Linked DNA regions of Homo sapiens: region 2 is linked to region 1. Evidence: promoter capture Hi-C in 16 types of primary human blood cells and fetal thymus (Javierre and others, 2016). All regions are on one chromosome and are shown on one strand. Each heading gives the region's core, a stretch centred on a gene start or on the middle of the fragment in contact. The rest is flanking DNA. Distances are from core to core; before and after follow the strand shown.

Region 1 (2,700 bases), core at 45-2,544:
CATAAAAACTTTAGATACTGTGTAATGTCTGCATGATAGTCTACGTATGGATGTGCCATTATTTAATCACTGTCTGCTACTGTTTCCTTTTTTTTTTGCTATCATTAATACCTCAAAGATTAGTACACAAATCTTACTCACATCTCTGAGGCTATCCTTAGAATAGATTTTTGGAAGGGGATTATGGAGTCAAAAGTAAGACTTCTTTGAGACAGGGTCTTACTCTGCTTCCAAGACTTAAGTGCACTGGCACGATCTTGGCTCACTGCGCCCTCCAACTCCTGGGCTCAAGTGATCCTCCCACCCCAGTCTCCCAAGTACCCATCACAGGAACGATCACAGGAAGGCGGTCACAGGAACGCACCCCGACGCGCAAAGATGGGATCTCGCCATGTTCCCCAGGCTGGTACGATTCCTGATTCATACTGGAGAACAACTTGCTGTGCAGTTATATTTTGAACCTCATCAAAATGGAATCATACAGCGTCCTCTTCTTTGTGCCTAAGTTAACAGTAGCTGCTATTCGTTCAGGCTGTTGCGTTTATCCGTAACTTCCTATTTCTCTGTAGAAATCCACTGTATGATACACCACAATTTAGCCACTCAACTGCTGATGGACATTTAGGTTACCAGTTTTTTACTACTACGAATAAACGTGCTATGGACATTCTTGCACATGCCTTTGGTGGACGTATGCACTCATTCCTCTTGAAGTGAAATTTCTGGGGTCACAAGGTAAGCGTACATTTAGCTTTGGCAGAAACTGCAGCGGTTTTCCAAAATGGTTGCATCGTGGGGCTGTTTTTCTATCTTGGTCGCTGGACTTTAAGCGAGGCGTAATCTAGAGGCACAACTGGCTCGGGTAAGGCGTGGAGCCTGACTGTGTGCCGGGATCTGCCAGGGCTGCCACCAGCTAGCTGCACGGGTGAACAGACTCAGCAAGGTGCCACAGTGGCTTCCCACAGATCCACTCTCGGTGGGCTCGGTCCAACGACCCGCTATGTCTGCCGTACTGGCCCCGTACAAATATACTCATTCACATACTGGAAAACGGGGTGTTTTTCAGAGCATACACGTTAGCTCACACTGTAAAAAAAAGTCAGCACTGCGAAACGCAGTCGCTTCTTTCCTCCAGGAGGTAGCGCGTCCTACTCGCTCCGGAACAAAGGAAGCGCTCTGCAGGGTCTCGCGGCTCGGCACCTCACCTAGGCACATGCGCAGATCGAACCTCACAGAGGCCCGCGGTCCAGGCGCGCGTGACGTAGCGCCGTCCCGCCAGTGCGTGATGACCCCAGAGCGTGCGTTCGGTGGCCCATAGGGGAAGATGGCGGCTGCTCCTTTGGAGGAGCGGGATTGAGAGGATCGGGGTGGGGAGACCAAACAAGAGAGACATTTCTGGCTCTGAAGGCGAACGCTTCGCTGGCCATTTAGGAGCTCTGCTCAAAGCCAGACGGTGAGTGCGGCGGCGACACGGGACTGCTCGCCTGCAGCAGGCAGCGGCACTCTCCGCCATTTTCGGGCTCGGCCGTTGCGTGCTTTGGGGGCCTGGACGGGCGCCTGGGCACAGGTTGGAGGAACTGGGAGAATCGACCTCGGGGCGGCTGTTCGAGGCAGGTTCGAGACTTATGGGAGGGGGCTGGAGGCTGGAGGCCAACCGGGAAAAGCGGCCATGGTTAGAACTAAGGCCCTGACTGGGAGCGGTGGCGACGAGAAGACGTAAGTCAGGCCACAGTTAAGACGTGAAGTTTGGAGGGAAATGCATTTTAACTGAGGTTTGGGGCGGGAGTGGAAAGAAGTGGGCCGAGTTGAAGTAGTTGGTTGAAAGGGTCAAGGGAAGTTAACGTGAAATCTGCAAAACAGCTGAAGACTTAGCCGTGATGTTATCGTGGCTTGAAATCGGTGCTTATTATAAGGATGAGGCTACAGCTTGACAGGCAAAGCCCTGCTTTTTTGGAATAGTTGTATTTCTATTTGGTTTGTGCTAGATCCCTGTTTCTGATTTTAAGTTGTCTTCTGGCAACTAAGTAGTGAGGATCTTAGCATGCCTTCTTAAAAGAAATGACAATGAATGTTTGTACTTGGTTGTAACCCTTGGGATTAGTGGCCCCTTCCGGAGTAAGGAGGAGGCGGCGGCGGCAGGTCGGTAGGGAATTCCGTAATTGGATCTATTTAAATCAAATCAGAAAAATACGGGCTACTTGTAGAAAGCCTGTCAAGAATGTTTTAAAGTAGTTTCTACACACATGATCTTAAGTTGACTGTTCAGGAACTTTGGAAGACATTAGAATATGAACAAAAAGCCTGCACTGAAAGGAACAACTCTGGGGAGCGTAGACTTTACTTTTTTAGTACACTCTGGAGAGCTAATGCATGCTATATATACATATATATGTGTATATATGTGTGTGTGTATGTATATATAGCCTGTGAATATGGTGCAGTGGTAAACCTACTTAATTCAAACCTTTTAGTGACAGTTATGCTAGTTGTACCTCTTGTGGCATTTTTCATTTCCTCGCCTTAATTGCATTTTACCCATTTTTTATTACTGTAAGATACTTTTGCTTTTTTTGTCTCCTTGACCGGGAGAAGATAAAATATTGTATAGATTTGAGTTTTTGCTGAGACTTGAAGTTCCATATTTAGACTATCTTCTTGAAACTTGGGGAGAAATTTTAACTTGTCTTTCCTGTACTCCTA
Region 2 (2,700 bases), core at 64-2,563, 88 kb after region 1:
TGTGGAATTCACCAGAGTCCAAGTCCAGGCTTTGGTAGCTTCATTTTAAGAGTAACAGAAAATGTCTTTTTTGAGGGGGAGGGAGAAGCTGGGTAACTTTTGTGAACAAATCTTCTCTCTTTGGTGCTGTTGCAGGGTAGAGAAGGAAGTGGGTGGGATGGAGATGGCTCACGAAGGGATGATCTGGAGTCTGGCTTGGCATCCTCTTGGGCATATTCTCTGCTCAGGCTCAAATGACCATACTAGGTAAGCTTTATATTGAAATAGCAAAGCTTTATATGGAGCAACAGGAAATAAATACTGTATGTGTTTATTTTTATTGGTTGATTGATATAGTAATTTATATTCCAACTTATTCTTGGGAATATTTTTGTAGTGGTTTACAAATACTTATATTGCAATAAAGAGATTGGGTATTGAATATGGTTTTGGCTATTCAAATTTTGTTTTGCCTTCTGACTTAAAACAGAAGTTTTCCACTTTTATTTATTTATTTATTTATTTATTTGAGACAGGGTCTCTGTCCAGGCTGGCGTGCAATGGTGCGGTCTCAGCTCACTATAGCCTCAACCTTCCTGGGCTCAGGTGATCCTCCTACCTCAGCCTCCTGAGTAGCTGAGACTATAGGAGCACACCACCACACCTGGCTAATTTTTGCATTTTTTGTAGAGATGGGGTTTCACCATGTTGCCCAGGCTGATGTCAAACTCCTGGGCTTAGGCAATCCTCCTGCCTCAGCCTCCCAAGGTGCTGGGATTACAGGCATGAGCCACCTTGCCCGGCCCCACATTTTATTTTTATTTTTATTATTATTTTAAGAGACAGAGTCTCACTCTGTCACCGAGACTAGAGTTCTGTGGTGAGATCACAGCTCACTGTAGCCTCAAACTCCTGGGCTCAAGCCATCTTCCCGCCTTATCCTCGTGAGTAGCTGAGACTACAGGTGTGTGCCACCACACCCAGCTAACTTTTTAATTTTTATTTTGTAGAGACAGGGTTTCGCTATGTTGCCCAGGCTGGTCTTGGACTCCTGGACTTAATCCTCCTGCCACAGCCTCCCAAAGTGCTGGGATTACAGATGTGAGCCAAAGTGTATGACCTCACATTTTAAATTTGTAGAAGAAACAAATTGTAAAAATGTGTTGTGTTTACCAAGGGTCTGCCTAGTACTGTTTAGTGCCCAAAAAAATAGTGAAGCCATGCTTCTTTTCTCCTTTAATTATTTTTACAGCAAATTCTGGACTCGAAACCGACCAGGTGATAAAATGCGAGATCGATATAATCTAAACCTTTTACCTGGAATGTCTGAAGATGGAGTAGAATATGGTGAGACTCTTGCACATCTGTCCTTCTTTGAAATCTGGTATTCTATTACAGAAGTGTTAGATGTTGGGAAGATTATACAAAATGAATTTTAATTTTATAGTAGATTTATTTATAAATCATCAGTGACATTCATTTTTATAAAGCATTAATTTTATCAGTCGCTACTTTTGTAAATTCTCTATTGACAATGGTGTATTACTATTTATAGATGACCTCGAACCTAATAGCCTGGCAGTAATTCCAGGAATGGGAATACCAGAACAACTAAAATTAGCTATGGAACAAGAACAGATGGGTAAGAGAAGTTACACAGACACATTTAATTTTTACAAATTTTTTCTTGACCCGTTTATGTTCCTGATAAATATATTGAAATACCAAAATGATTTATGTTGAGAAATGTTGATAAAAATTATATAAATGACATAATACTTAAAATCTATTCTTCCAATAATGTGTTCATTGATCAAGTGGCCAATTTCTTTTATTTAAGAGGCAAACCACTTTTCTTTACGGTTACAGGGAAAGATGAATCAAATGAAATTGAAATGACAATTCCAGGTTTAGATTGGGGAATGGAGGAAGTGATGCAAAAGGATCAGAAAAAAGTACCTCAGAAGAAAGTTCCTTATGCAAAACCCATTCCTGCTCAGTTCCAGCAGGTAAGTAAAAGTGACTCCACCTCATCCACGCAGAGAGGTTTTGGTTGGTTAGTTTGAGGTTTCTCTTGGATTATCTCACTGTTGAAGGTGTTTCTGTACTGGAGCATTTTTCCCATGTTCACGTACTCTTAGACATGGTTCTCATCTACTGCTTTGCAGTTGTATTGAGTTTGTTATCAGTCTTCTCTGTTCTGTCCTCACCTGCTTATTATCATCCATGCTATGAGAGGAAATAGAAGAAAGAGGCATGGAGCAGAGGGAGTATGGGAGTATGTTGCTTCTCTTCTCCATTGTTTATCTATCTTGTGCTTTAATTGTCCCCTCAACACAAAGTGCATGTACCCTGTGAAGAGGCTGGCAAGCTTTGCATTCTTAATAACATGCAGTGTCTTGCAGCTTTTATCACCATAGTAATTTCTACCTAGTAATATGTCAGTAAGAATTAGCATGAGTCATGTACTTGAGTCATGGAGAAAAGGTAAAAAGAAATAAAATCGGTTCAGAGGTTAGATTGAGCAGATGACATTGTAGAGTGGTTTTCTCATTCTATCATTGTAATTTTCATACTTAGCGTACATTTTAATATTCTCTTCTTTCCCAAGGCTTGGATGCAAAATAAAGTTCCAATTCCTGCTCCAAATGAGGTGCTGAATGACAGAAAAGAAGACATTAAATTGGAAGAGAAGAAAAAAACACAAGCAGAAATTGAGCA

Evidence for each region. The method cuts DNA at HindIII sites, captures the fragments that hold promoters and counts their contacts. A CHiCAGO score of 5 or more calls a contact.
Region 2: a contact is called between a fragment that was not itself captured here and the fragment with the promoter of WDR33 in region 1, in 2 of 17 cell types (naive CD4 T cells and total B cells). The highest score is 5.3, in naive CD4 T cells.

The regions. Positions count from the first base shown.
Region 1 is chr2:127,809,765-127,812,464 of GRCh38, reverse strand. It overlaps WDR33 (WD repeat domain 33), which reads left to right and starts at 1,294. Exons shown (of 22, transcript NM_018383.5): 1 at 1,294-1,453. It overlaps LOC124907885 (a long non-coding RNA gene), which reads right to left and starts at 1,214. Exons shown (of 2, transcript XR_007087230.1): 1 at 322-1,214. RefSeq lists enhancers at 993-1,062, 1,333-1,622, 1,643-1,722, 1,803-1,882, 1,289-2,229 and 1 more. The HindIII fragment of the contact is 7,008 bases long and covers 1-2,700 here.
Region 2 is chr2:127,721,879-127,724,578 of GRCh38, reverse strand. It overlaps WDR33 (WD repeat domain 33), which reads left to right. Exons shown (of 22, transcript NM_018383.5): 11 at 136-246; 12 at 1,232-1,326; 13 at 1,535-1,621; 14 at 1,849-1,988; 15 at 2,591-2,700. Among named protein-coding and RNA genes, the nearest start is that of SFT2D3, 22 kb to the right of the region's middle. RefSeq lists an enhancer at 2,017-2,700. The HindIII fragment of the contact is 2,078 bases long and covers 275-2,352 here.